2 separate regions of the Homo sapiens genome follow, and region 1 is linked to region 2. The links are contacts of gene promoters, found by promoter capture Hi-C in blood cells and fetal thymus (Javierre and others, 2016). All regions are on one chromosome and are shown on one strand. The core of a region is centred on a gene start or on the middle of the fragment in contact, and the rest is flanking DNA. Distances in the headings are between cores, read along the strand shown. Region 1 has its middle 110 kb from the start of LINC01910. Region 2 holds the start of RTTN (rotatin).

Evidence for each region. The method cuts DNA at HindIII sites, captures the fragments that hold promoters and counts their contacts. A CHiCAGO score of 5 or more calls a contact.
Region 1: a fragment that was not itself captured here is called in contact with the fragment with the promoter of RTTN in region 2 in 4 of 17 cell types (monocytes, M2 macrophages, M1 macrophages and 1 more); the score reaches 15.9 in monocytes.

The regions. Positions count from the first base shown.
Region 1 is chr18:70,495,049-70,502,339 of GRCh38, reverse strand. No RefSeq gene overlaps it. Among named protein-coding and RNA genes, the nearest start is that of LINC01910, 110 kb to the right of the region's middle. The HindIII fragment of the contact is 2,805 bases long and covers 3,776-6,580 here.
Region 2 is chr18:70,200,657-70,207,486 of GRCh38, reverse strand. It overlaps RTTN (rotatin), which reads left to right and starts at 1,800. Exons shown (of 49, transcript NM_173630.4): 1 at 1,800-1,859; 2 at 2,172-2,359; 3 at 3,224-3,401; 4 at 5,504-5,593. The coding sequence starts at 1,829. LOC105372180 (a long non-coding RNA gene) reads right to left here and starts at 1,698. Exons shown (of 3, transcript XR_935599.3): 1 at 913-1,698; 2 at 393-458. RefSeq lists enhancers at 1,401-1,640, 1,103-1,732, 1,651-1,760, 1,971-2,100. The HindIII fragment of the contact is 5,232 bases long and covers 1-3,282 here.

The DNA of each region.
Region 1 (7,291 bases), core at 3,929-6,428, 290 kb before region 2:
GTAAGTGTTATTTTCATAATATAGAGTTTACATTGTGCAAATATGTGTAAGTATATATGTGTAGCAAAATACGGATAAAGTTTCTGGAATCATCAAAGTATGTTTTACTTCCCCAGAAAAACAGAGGAAAAGTCTTAGATATGCTCTCTGGACACTGTAACAAATCCAAGACAGAGTTGAACATATGTACAGATATAACAAACATTCCAGAACTTGGATCAAAATTCTAAACGAGTACATATACAGCAAAAGAAGCATTTCCCACAGTCTCTCTCCAGCATGATAATACTGTATGTTTCTGATGTTCCTAAGTGCTGTATCCACATAAAATACACTGGCAAGAAAACTGTTAAATAACCAAAGCAGATTCAATTTCTTCCTCACAAATCTTATTCTAATTCTGGCTAAAAGAGCCCAAATTATTTCAAATATGTTCATTATACTGCTAATCAACTTTGATTTTCACAAATCAAAATGTAAATTAACATACTTAATCACAGCCTTTTTAATCCAGTAAGTCCATTCAACTCAATATTTTTGGATCATATCCTAAAGTAAAGAAAACCTATATAGGTTAGAAGAGTTCTCAGTACTTGAGATAAAAGCTATTTGTGTATGAAATACTTAGAAAGAACATATAAGGTGTAGAATCGAAATAACTAAAGCAAAACTAAAGGAGAAAAAAGAAAGAATAGATGACGTGATTCAAGTTCAAATTAAAGAATAAAGCCGACATAAAATGACAAGAATGCAGAAAAAAGACAGAGGAAGCCTGCCTGTCACCAAAGAAACCTGATGACAGAATCATAAAATGAAATGGACCTGGAGAAAACGGTGACTTAAAAACCATCATTACATTTGATTTATATAATCCAGTTTAACTGCCTGTTAGAAAAACATTTGGTGCACATCTAGTAGCAATTTTTTTAGCCATTCTTTTTTTAGAAGATTTATTTGCAACAGCAAATACTGGTTAGAATTCTATAGCAAAGGCGAAATATGAGTGCAAATATTCTCTAGCTCAAAATTCTGAAAATTTATTTCTCCCCTCGTTAGGAAGACCAGAAAATTCTGAGATTATTTTTAATAATAAAAATGTAAAAATAAAGCACTTATTAAAGCAAATCAGAGTAAACCCACTTTAACTCTCCAATGCCAAGTCATGGTCATATTAAATGTCTTTTTTAGATTACTCCCTTTTTAGACCATGAAGAAATACTACATAATAATTGGAATATATCTGTGTTCATATAAGTACAAGTCGCTATACAATATTCTTTCTGTTTTACTAATAAAATTAGTAAGTCATGAAACATTAACCTATATTCAGGGATTAGAACCATCAGAGGTTTCTTCTGTTATATGGCTATTTCTTCCCTGGACTTATGTATCAGTACATCACGTGATCATTATTAGTACTGAAATTTCAATGCAACATTTATATCATTACCATTTAAAAGCCTTAAAATTTAAGTGCACATTTTATAACAAAATTATAGCCAAATATTATCTAAATCTAAAATTGCCTTTGACCATTTAATAAAAATTATCTATAACATATCCATTTCCTCTGTCATCACCTTATAGATAGGACATTATCTTTCTCTTGTTGATCCAATAACGAGCTCCTGTGCCTGACACATAGTAGGACTCCCAAAATGGTGGTTGTACAGAATTGAAACCAGATCCATGAAACTATTTTCTTGGTTTTTCTGTATTTTATCTATTTTTGTCTCAATGAATAAAGTTTACTTGATTATACGTGATGCTGAGGTGTTTAATTATCAGCAAACATAATCACTCACATATTTCTCTAGCTTTAAAAAGCCTTATATTTTGGTTGAAATGAGACCTGAATATATTAAGAATAGAAGAATTGCATCTGAAATTGAAGTACAAAATTAAGGTAACTGGAGCACAAATATGCGAATTGAAAAAAAAAACTGCTCGTAAATTGCAAGAATAAACATTAACCTAATGGCTTATTTACCTTTTAATTCAAAAGGTAGCTCGTCTTCCCTGGAAGCACAGAACAATGAGAGTCACAGCTTGCATGTGACCGTTCCTATCCACAGTCCCAGAAAAATCTCAGACATCAATGACTGCCAGGATGTCCGGCAAAACAGCCTCTTTTGTGGACAGGTTGATGAAAAACATCTATTTTAAAGCATCTCAGTCTCTTTGCTTGGAATCCATGCCTATTCACAAACCTTATGATTAAATTTTTGTTTCCACCGTTAGTCAATTAACATTATGATTTTACAAAAATTGGGTTTATTCACCCAGTTCAAGAGCTTGACAAGTGGGAGGGACACCTTTATTCGCAGGAATAAGGTGATTCAAGAACTCCTGTCCTCAGACAAGAGCAGCTCCGGCCGGGTTTATTTCACAGGATCCGGAGTCCAGGCCGCCAGGCACTCTCTTTGTTTTTGTGACCGTTTTTTTGAAGCTCAACTTCCTCACATCACATGGAAGGAAAAATATGTATTTTATGTCCCATTTTATCAGATTAACTGTTAGAGTTTTAGGGAACTTAGATTTTCCAAAAGAAGAGTCCACGGAGGCATAGAAATAATCAGTGACTGCCTCAAATCACCGTCGCACTCCAGCCTGGTCCATTCTGGGTCCAGGCACGCAGGGAACCGGCACGCACGGCGCCCACGGCTGCTCCGCGTCAGGTAATGGGCCCCACGGCGGCCAGGGACGCACCCTAGCACCTGAGGTCAGCCTAGGGCCTCGACTCCCGGAAGTGAGAAGGCTGTGGCTTCGGGGACAGCCGGCTAGGCAAAGTGCCCGGGGCGGAAATGCCTTCCATGGTGCCCCCAGCTGGGGCCCAGCGGCAGCTCCCCGGAGACCAGGGGTTCCGCCCTCAGAGACTCAGAATACCCCTGCCTGCGGCGACCTTGAGCCTCCTGACTTACTGAGCCTGATGAGGCCTGCCCACGGGGGCGTTCACAGCTCCCTAGGGGCCTCCACTGAGCAGCCAGCTTTGACGCCACCGCTTTGGAGCCTCGCCTCAAGAACTGGCTGAGCGACAGCGATCTTGGCAGGGAAGCGGAAGTGGTCATGCCGAACCCAGCCTGTGCAACACCCGGCACTGCCATCGCCCTGACACAGGAGGGGCTGCTTTTCCTTCTGACCTCAAACAGCTCCACGGAGAAGGGCTCATGCCTTCCAGACCGTGGGCCTCAATCCTGAAGGCTTCAGCCCACCTTGAGGAATCTTTGGTATCATCGGAACCCAGCAGCTCAGGGGAACAAAGTCAGCAGCAGCAGGAACAACGCCTGGGCACCAGAAAGCAGCATGGTACAGAAGGAGAATGAGAGAAAAGGCAAGAAGCCCAGAGGCAGTTCTGGAACTTAGGGCACCTCTAAGCCCACAGCACCAAGTCCAGTAGGGATTTTAAGGGTGGCTGGCACAACCAGGATCAAGAATGTGTCTTGGCCCAGCCATCCTCGATTGGGGTCTCTGGCTCCTTCTAGCCCCATTGGCTGCCAAGGTATCCAGCCAGTGGGTAGGGGTGAGTTACCCCAACTGGAGGGGCAGATAGAAATGTAAAAGTTTACCCTATTGGTCACAACCATGACTAGAAATGTTGTGACTTCTGCACGCACTGCACTGCAGGAAGCCACTCCATCTTTGGCAGGGAGGGATGTCATGCAACACTACGGACATACTTAAACTGAAAAAAAATATTCCTACAAAGGGAAACACACTCTTACCATATAATCCAGCATTCAAACGCCTAGGCATTTGCCCAAATGAATTTAAAGCTTACGTCCACACCAAAATCTGCACACAGATGTTTATAGCAGCTCTATTCTTAATTCCAAAACTTGGAAGCAAGCAAGATGTCCTTCACCAGGTGAATGAGTAAGTCAACTGTGGTACATCTAGACAATGGAATATTAATAGGATTCAGGGCTAAAAAGAAATGGGCTATGAAGACATGGAAAGATATGAAAGAAACTTAAAGGCACATTACTAAGTGAAAGTAACCAATCTGAAAAGACTGCATACTGTACAATTCCAACTTTACAACATTCTGGGAAAGGAAAAACTATGGAGGCAGTAAGAAGATCAGTGGTTGCCAGGAGTTTAAGGGAGAGGGGGATGAATAAGCAGAGATTCACAGATCATTATGACTGTGAAAATACTCTGTATGATACTATAATGGTGGACACATATCATTATACATTTCTCAAAACCCATACAACACCAAAAGTACAACACCAAGAGTGAATTGTAATGTAACCTGTGGACTTTGGGTGATAATGATGTGTCAATATAGTTTCATGAATTATAACACATGTACCACTCTGCTGGTGGGGGATGCAGATATGAGGGAGGAGGGTGGTCAGGAGTTATATAGGAACTCTTCTGTATTTTCTGCTCAGTTTTACAGGGAACCCAAAACTGCTCTAAAAAATAAACTTTATTAAAAGTGAAAAGAAATATTCTTTGTTGATTTGAAATTCAATTTTAATGGGCATCCTGTAATTTTACTTGCTAAATCTAGCAACTCTGTTGGAAGAGCACTAAATTTCAAGTTATATAAATTATAATGAATATTTTATTTAATATATTGGATATATTTTGAGTCCCTACTCCCCCTCCTTAGCAGGCGGAAGCCCCAATTGAGTAGAGGGAGAGATTTAGATGGCCTGGATACCCCAAATACCGGATTCAGTTAATCTGGCACAATTTAGCTCCCTTTAATGAGCCCAAGGATTAAAAAGAATATTTTTACATGAATTTCTAGTCTCCTAAACTAACATTCTTTGTTTACATAGGGCTTATATTCAATCAGAGGCTTTTTTTTGTCTACATGTGTGTTGTTTAAGTAATTTCATTCAATCTGTGAAGTCAGAAATGGATTTCAATTATTTCAGTGCTCACCAGTAACCTAAAGTGACATCCAAAAAATGCTCTCCATGAATGCTTGCAAAATTCTTCTTCTTCTGTCTCAGATATTTTAAAAGTAGTACATCTGACCTCTAATGCAATGTGCTTTCTTCTCATTAATAGGGCTCTTTCTTAGAAGCTCATTTACACGATATCAGTATAAATTTTATATTTTATTTATTCAAGGAGCAATCTCCACCAAACTTTGCAGAGCCATGATTAGAATCTCTATATTTCTGAAGTCACCTGTCAACACAACTGTGCTTGAATAATTACATTTAGCAATCTATAACCCCAGGCAGTTCCAGTTGCTGCAGCTATGCCTATGCTGAGATTTTAGGTATCAGCACATCACCAAGATAACAATAAAGCTCATAAAACTGAACCTATTATCTGCCAAACGTATCTCTGGATACTTGCATCTTAGAGAGAAGTCTATTATAGAGATACTGACACACATCACAGCCCCCACCATCCCCACTACATACTTACAATATTATTATTGACAGTAAACGATGACTAAGGCTTGTCATCTACCATAAATGGCTGATCTGTCTGCAACAGATTTAATTTACTGACATAAAACATTCTCATTTTCTGCCTACCCAGGTTAAGCAGATGCCTGAGAAGTCACAGAGAGTAATAATTCCCACCCTGGTGGCTGACTATTGGTCACTGATTATAACTGGACATTGGAAATTCTTTGCTGCAAAATATCTATTATGAATATGAAGGGACTTTCAAGTTATTCATAGTCTTTCTTAGAGGCTTTTATTAGAGGCTTTTCCAAATCCAAAAGCCAAGATAAAATAGCTCAGCATAGCATTCATTTTTAATGACTCTCAAGCTAGAATGTAAATCCCTGTTCGGCATGCATTAACTCTCATCAGGATTTTAACAACTGGCCTAAATCTTGCCTTCCCCACACTGGATGGGAACGCTCGGCAGAGTCACGATGGTGCCACACAGGCAGGGGCTGAGAGCTGCAGATCTCATAGCCACTGAGTGGAAATAGGAAAAAGCACTTGCAATTTTAAGAGTGAGGCCAGCTCCTTCACTCCTAGAGTCGTGTACTGGACCACCCCACTCTAACCCACCTTTGCAAGAAAGAGACAAATCAGGGGTTTGGCTATTTATTCTCAGTGAAGAGGGAAACCCTTATGGGAGTAAATGAGTGGCCAAACATTAAGAACAAGTGGTGCAATTAGAAACCACAGTTTTGGTCTTAAGGGTCTCTGGAAAGAAAATCTAGAAAATACATAATTTTCTGTAGCAAAATCTGAGAATACAGACCTAGACATTTACCTCTATCTCATTTGGTGGGCCCTTGGAAGAAAATAGAGCAATGCCCAGGAATAAAAATAAAAATCAGATAACCCAGCATAGTATAAAACACACTCAAAGACAATAAATAGAACTTCGTATCAACAGTGATCTTTGACATGATGGAATAAATTAGTCACACCATATTCAATGAGTACAAGCATCACACCTGTCTACCTGAGCAATTATCATGTAAATATGTCCTCTGTGTGTATGTGCCTTTGGAGAATATCCACTAGTATATACAAAATCCCACCAGAGGATAAAATAAATTATTAAAAATAAATAAAAACTCCATATCTAGTCTGCAGAAAGAAATCATTCTGTGCTTTGTGGCCCACATGCACAAGCTTGCTAAAAAATATGTGGGTGTATGAAGGTACCTGGGACCCTTGTATAAAACCAAATTTAAAATTTCATGTCTGGGACGCTAAACATTCACTGCTCAGAAATTACCTGCTATGGGGCATGAAGCACCTCTTTGGAACTTTTCCCTTCATTTGCCCTGGTGGGTGAGCTGTGTGCCTCTTATGAATACTCCATGATGAAGTTCAAAGAAAGTGACTCAGAGAGCACAGTGGAACTGTTCCTTAAATGTAGGCTGCCTCTTATAAGGAGGAAAAAAAGGAATCTGGTTACTTTGGCTAGCCATTTATTTATTTATTTATTTTTTAGAGTCTCGCTCTGTTGCCCAGGCTGGAGTGCAGTGGTGTGATATCAGCTCACTGCAAGCTCCGCCTCCCAGGTTCATGCCATTGTCCTGCCTCAGCCTCCCAAGTGGCTGGGACTACAGGCGCCTGCCACCATGCCCGGCTAATTTTTTGTATTTTTAGTAGAAACAGGGTTTCACTGTGTTAGCCAGGATGGTCTCGATCTCCTGACCTCGTGATCCGCCTGCCTCGGCCTCCCAAAGTGCTGGGATAACAGGTGTGAGCCACCACGTCTGGCTCATTTAATTATTTTTAATTTATTAGCCTCCACATGCTACTCTCCCTTTGACATCCCTAACCCACACATGGGTGTAAGGCCTAAAATTAAGATGCAGTTTTGTATGCTGTCTTGA
Region 2 (6,830 bases), core at 551-3,050:
CTTAGGCATGGGCTAGTGGAATCTTGGTTTAATATCCGTATCTCTTTCCTCCTACTTTCCAATTTCCTGCTGATGCCTCCTATCGGCGGCAACCAACTGGAAGCCAGAGGGCCAGGCAGCCTGGATAGTGCAGTCTTTTTGCCTGTTCAGGTCAGTTGATGCAGAGCTGGAAGAGCTGGGAGGAACCACTAGAAGGTGGAATGGAGAATATCCAGCATGCTAGCAGCAATCTTGCCCTTCCTCTCTTCTTCCCAGAGATAATATGGCCACCTTGAATTTTGTTCTTTTCCCGAATTTGACACACTCCGTCTGGATTCTTGCCTTTGCAAATACAGGTTTCTCCTGCAGGAATTTCCTTACCCAACTTCTTTGTGTGGCAAACTCCTACTTACTCTTTAAGATCCAACTCAAATATCATCACTCTCCTATTGACACACATGAGGAGGCAGCAAGGCACTCTAAATAGAACAAAGAAACATCAGGTCAGCTCCTCAATCTGTCACTTACTAGTTAATGTGACTTTGTGTGGGGGTACTTTTGTGATTCTAAGTTTCCTCTTTGGCAAAATAGGAATGGGAATACAGTAGGCCTTTGCTGTCCACTGGTTGCACACAGAGAATTCAACACACGGGATGGAAAATATTCGGGAAAAAACCCCACAGTTGAAAATAACAATACAACAATTAAAAAATAATATGAATAAAAGTACAGTGTAACAACTATTTACATAGCATTTACAGTGTATTAGGTATTGTAAGCAATCTAGAGATGATTTAAAGCATATAGGAGGATGTGTGTAGGTTATATGCAAATACTACACCATTTTATAAAAGAGACTTAAGCATGGGTGGATTTGGGTATCTGCGGGGGTCCTGGAACCAATTACCTAGGGATACCGAGGGCCCACTTTACCTGCCTTGACATCCCTTTCCCAGGGAACGTGAAATGATCAGACCGAGAAAATGCAAATCATTTTCCAAATGTAATTTTGTTGTTGTTCTTACCGCTGCTTATAATTAAAAAAAAAATAATTTGCTCAGCTCGATCACTGTGCACGGTGCAAAAAATCAACTTTGGTACCATTCAGCAAATCATACCCCCACGTCCCGCCTTTATTTTCCTTTTTTGCAGCCCGGTTTCTCTCTTCTGCTCACTCATACCCGCCCACCCCGCTTTTGTAGCTTGCTTGTTCATATCTGAACTTGGGTATCCAAAGACACTGCTTGACTTTGCAGGTACATTTCACAGTTAAAGAGGGTTCGTCATTTAGTAGTCGGGGATGGGGAGAACTGTCACAAAGCAAAAGTCTACATTCTAAATCGTGAAGTTCTGGGAGCTGAGAATCAGATTGGCAGGGCCAAGAACGAATCCGTCGACGAGCCGGGAGGCGGGGCTCCTGCTGGGGCCTCTGCAGCCCGCGCTGGGTTCCCGAATTCCCGCGCTGTAAGCCGGAACCCCAGGCCAGCGGGCGCCGCGGCGGGCCCGGAGATCGGTGCAGGACGCACGGCCTAGCCAGAACTACAACTCCCGACGTGCGCGGCGGCCAACGCTGGTTCTATCCCTGCTTGTTGCTTTTTTTTTTCCCTCCGCTTCTTGCGACGGAGACTGCTGTCCAGGAAGTGCGCAGTAGTGATTCTAGAGAGGCTGGAAGCTCTCCTGGCGACGCTGGGGCCGCGAAGGGCTCACGTAATGACTCCTACTCCTGGTGAGCGCAGGCGTTGCGGAACTCACCGTCCCACAGGACGTGTTTCCGGGGGTACATTAATTGTGGCTGGACGCAGTGGCGCGGCAGTTTAATTCTCCGGCGGCTGCAGATTGACGGGACGAGATGGTCCTGGCAGGGCTCATCAGGAAACTCGGTAACTGTCAGCTTGCCCCTCGCCCAAGGCACCCCCCGCGCTCTGGCCACTTGCTGAGAATGGTCGTGTCACGTTTCCGCGGCCGGCCGCTCCGCGACCGCTCCCTCTTTCACCCCCGCTTTGTCAGGATAGCCCCCGGGGACCCATCTCGGACTTTGTGTAAACTTCGCGGTTCGCGTCCCGAAGGCACCAGTGGCCTGCTTCTGAAAAAAACTGGTTTATTCCGTCTTCACGCCGCTCCTGCCCACAGCATAAATAACGTAGTCTCTTTGCAGTCGGGAAATAAAATAGTTTTGTGCCGTTCGTTGACAGGTCATCAGCTGGCCGAGATCAGGGAGCGCGCTCTCAAGAGTATTCTCTGCAAGATTGAGCACAACTTAATCTGCTACGCTGATCTCATTCAGGAGAGGCAACTTTTTCTTCATTTGCTGGAATGGTTCAATTTCCCGTCCGTTCCGATGAAGGAAGAGGTTCTGAACCTGTTAAGCAGATTGGTTAAGGTAGGGTCATTTTGAAATAAAGAAAATAATCAGACGAGTGACTTGTTTCTTAGTCATTTAATTGTAGCGTTTATTGAAAGTTAAATAATTGGGGTTAAAAGTTTTTTTAATCAACCAGAGATGTTTAATTTTAATTAATCTGGGTATATGGTTCATCTTTTATTTGTGATACTGAATCCCACATGGTCTCTGCTGTGCTCAGAAGTAACACAGAACTTCTTTTGAGTTTTGGTATGTTCTGTGTTTTTGAGTTATCTTTGGAGGTTAATATTTGTATTCTGTTTTTGTTTTCTGACATTTACATCTTAAAAACTAGATATGTCAGTATGAAAGGGAGCACTTTAAAAATAATGTTACATAACCGTGATTCATAAATACCAATGTTAAGTTGCTTGCCCATATGCTTTTAGATTGGTATTCTTATGCCTACCTCAAGAGTAGTTAGTTATCGGGGTCAGATATCAAAGTGTAAGTTTAACCTTTCAAAACTAAATCACTGTACAATGGTAGAGGAATCTTAAACTACTTTGACATCCTGTTGACCGGTTGGGGCTGGGACCATAAGGTGAGTGTCAGTGGAAAAAAGTAACCCATTAAAAAAATAAGAGTAGGGATTGATAATGTGCATTTCTAGCGTTCAGTGTGTTGGCTCATCTTTCATAAATGTTATCAAGTGTTGGATGTATGTCTCTATAGGTGTATGTGCTCCTCATGGAAGTGCCTTACTTCGGGGCAGAGCCATGAAGGATTTGTTTTTCAGAAAAGGAACATCTGATATACCAAAAATAATTTTATGTTTTGATTGCTGTAAGTTATAGAGATTTTGATACAGTTATTCTCAAGATCATCCTCTTCTTATTTTAGTATCCCCCAGCAGTCCAACATTTGGTTGACGTTGGTGCAGTAGAGTTCTTATCTAAGCTTCGGTCTAATGTGGAGCCAAATCTGCAGGCTGAAATTGATGGCATTCTGGATGGACTTTTTCTTCTTCCTTCGGAAGTTCCTGCACTATCTTCTGCCTCATACCAAACCAATCAAACTGGTAACTCTTTGGAATCTGTTAAATACAAATATATTAATTCTAATGGTAAATTTTAAGGAAAGGGAGATTAGATTTTTTTAAAAAGGATTTCTCCCACCTCCCCCAAACTTATTTTTCTTGTGTTAACTTACATGATTTTGACCTTTTTCCCCTCCTCTACTGTTAGTCAAAGGATGGTACATTTGCATTAATTGCTTTTTGGGTCAGGCCTAAACGATGCCAGTGACTTTGCTTTTATGAGGCCAGTTTGACAGATTATTTTTTTGGCAATAACAATGTATTTTTATTGAGCACATGAGTGCTCATTGTTCTTAGTGCTTTATATTTGTATTTTTGACCTTGTTCGTCATATTGGAGTATAATGATATCTGTCCTAGCTCATGATCTTGTTGTGGGGACCAATCAAAACGACATAATGCAAGTATTTTTATATGCTGCAGTCCATCATGATATACTTGTTAAAATCCAAGTCAAAGAGACATGGATTTAAGTCTCAGTTCTGCTGCTAGTTGTGTGACCTTGGCTAAGGTAATTAACCCTTCCAGGCTTCAGTTTTCTCATTCAAAAACTGGGATAATAAGAAAGAACACCGGGCTGGGCATGGTGGCTCACGCCTGTAATCCCGGCACTTTGGGAAGCCGAGGCAGGTGGTCAGAAGTTCAAGACCAGCCTGACCAACATGGTGCCCCGTCACTACTAAAAATACAATACAAAAATTAGCCGGACATAGTGGCGGGCGCCTGTAATCCCAGCTAGTAGGGAGGCTGAGGCAGGAGAATCACTTGAACCCGGGGGGCGGAGGTTGCAACGGTGAGCTGAGATCACTCCATTGCACTCCAGCCTGGGTGACAGAGCAAGACTCCATCTCGAAAAAAAAAAAAGAACACTTTCTCATAGAATCGTCATGAGATTAGATGAGACAATGTCTGTAAAGTGCTTAGCACAGGGCCCAGCATGTATGAAATGTGGCTGTGTTGGCTGCTGTGCTGCTGCTGTTGTGTTGTTGTTAATGCCTAGTATAGTGCCTTGCACATGGAATGCATTTGAATTGATTTGAAGAAAAACATCTTCATGCAATTTATGTGACTGAGTAGTAAAAGTAAAAAAAAAAAAAAAAAGTTTTGATGCTTAACCTGTTAGACCATATTTTCTTCTCTGCCAGTACTGTTACAGCTTCAGCTGTGGGTACTGCGGTTCACAACAACAATAGCAGCTGTCATTTATTGAGTTTTGTTGTGGGCATTGAATACATTGATTTAAACACATCATCTTGTTAAATCTTAAAGCAGCCTTTTGACTGAGATGTTATTAGTCTTACTCTATAGCTGAGAATAAAAGTATAAAGTAACTTGCCCCACAGTACCAAGTTTTCTAACCTGTAGCAGATGCAGGATTCTAACATTGCTTTATCTGGCTCCCAAACCTGTGATTTTTAACAATATATTTTACAGTTTCGAAGACATCACAAATAAAGTAGAGTCTTACACTGTGAATTTTTAATCTGATTCCTTGCGGGTGAAAGTAGAGGAATGGTTTAGGGCTAAATGTTATTTTTCTTTATTAGTGTTAGGAACTATTGCCATGAAAACTTAAAATTACAAACTATAGTTTTAGCCTTTTCCTCATTTTCATTGCAGCTGAACTGCTGAACATATAATCGCATGTTATAGGGAATTGTAAAGGTATTGAAAGATAATATTTGACTCCTTTGTTTTTGACAACTTTCTTTTTAAGGTATGAATGAAAATTGAAGTGATCAGGAACTATATAATTGGAGTCAAGGGAGAGGGAGATGGATTAGGAAGTAGAGAGGGATAGTCCTTGAATACTTTGTAGCAGATTCTTCGTGTACATTCTAACAAATAACTGTGTTTGGCTAACAGTAAAAGTGAGAGGGAAAAAGCTTCTTAACTGGAAGTGGGCTCAATGTGCACATTTTTTCCTCTTTAGCAAGATAGATCATTCAGAAAAAAAACTGGACTTTTTTTTAATTTTTAAAATGATTCCAATACTTAAGAGAAAACATTACCACTTAAAGAAAGTAAGTTTCACTTTTAGCAAATAAGGAATCGACAATACAGTAATGTTTATTTCCTTTTCAGAATTGTCAAAAAACCCTGAAATCTTAACAGGATATTTTCCCCAAGACAAAAGTAATTTCCAGCAGATGGAAGTGCCGCCACGACCAGTGGGTGTGTATATGTCGGGAAGTAAATCCTGTTGACTTGGGAAGTTGAAAATTAATGTACTTTTTTCGTTATTGTGAAGATGTATTTTTACCAAACTTGAATGTTTCAGCACCAAACTATCATTAAATGTTTTAGTTGTTTCAAGTTAGTTTAGGATATCGAGTAGAAATGATAAAATTTTGTGTTATTCTAACCATATTTGAACAACTGTGTAGATGGATGGTATTAATGGCAGTAGTATGTCGTACTGAATGAACATGAGTTTTTTTTTTTTTTTTTTTTTTTTTTTGAGATGGAGTCTCGCTCTGTCGCCCAGGCTGGAGTGCAGTGGTGGGATCTCGGCTCACTGCAAGCTCCGCCTCCCGGGTTCACGCCATTCTCCTGCCTCAGCCTCCCAAGTAGCTGGGACTACAGGCGCCCGCCACTACGCCCAGCTAATTTTTTGTATTTTTAGTAGAGACGGGGTTTCACCGTTTTTTTTTTAGCCGGGATGGTCTCGATCTCCTGACCTCGTGATCCGCCCGCCTCGGCCTCCCAAAGTGCTGGGATTACAGGCGTGAGCCACCGCGCCCGGCCGAACATGAGTTTTTTGAGGCATTGTGCCCTGCACTACACATGTCATCTCATTTGTTCTCCAGCTTAACGATGGCACCATCTATCCAGTTACGCCAGCCAGAGGCTGAAGATCATTTTAGTTTCTTTTCCCATTTCCTCACCACCCAGTTAATTAAAAAGTTCTGATTTAGAACCCTGTTTCTGGAATCTGGAATCTCATCTCCATCTTTTTGTATCTGGCTGTGTTCAGCCTCAGCTCACATGCCACCTCATCAGAGACCTTCCTGGTGATTCTAGCCAGTGATCACTTCCTATGTGTAGTTTTCTTCCTAACACATTATTTTTTATTATTTTTGTTTTAAGTTTGATAATAGCCGTGAACATTGCATTATTTTCAGTGTCTGGAACAATACCAAAAAATGTATTAGGCACTCAGTATATATTCTTTGAAGGAATGAATGAATCCTCCTGGAGTGTCTTTGAGATTGGTATTATTAGTGACCACATTTTACTAATAAAGACACTGAGATTAGAAAGGTTGAAAACTTTGTCCTTGGTGAGGCAGTTAGGAAGTAGTTAAGTAATCACGTACTTACCATTTTCTTGCCTGCACAGTTAAGTTGAAAAGGATATGTTCAAGAGTATATCTGCTGATGTCACATATTCAAATGAACTCCATTTGGAA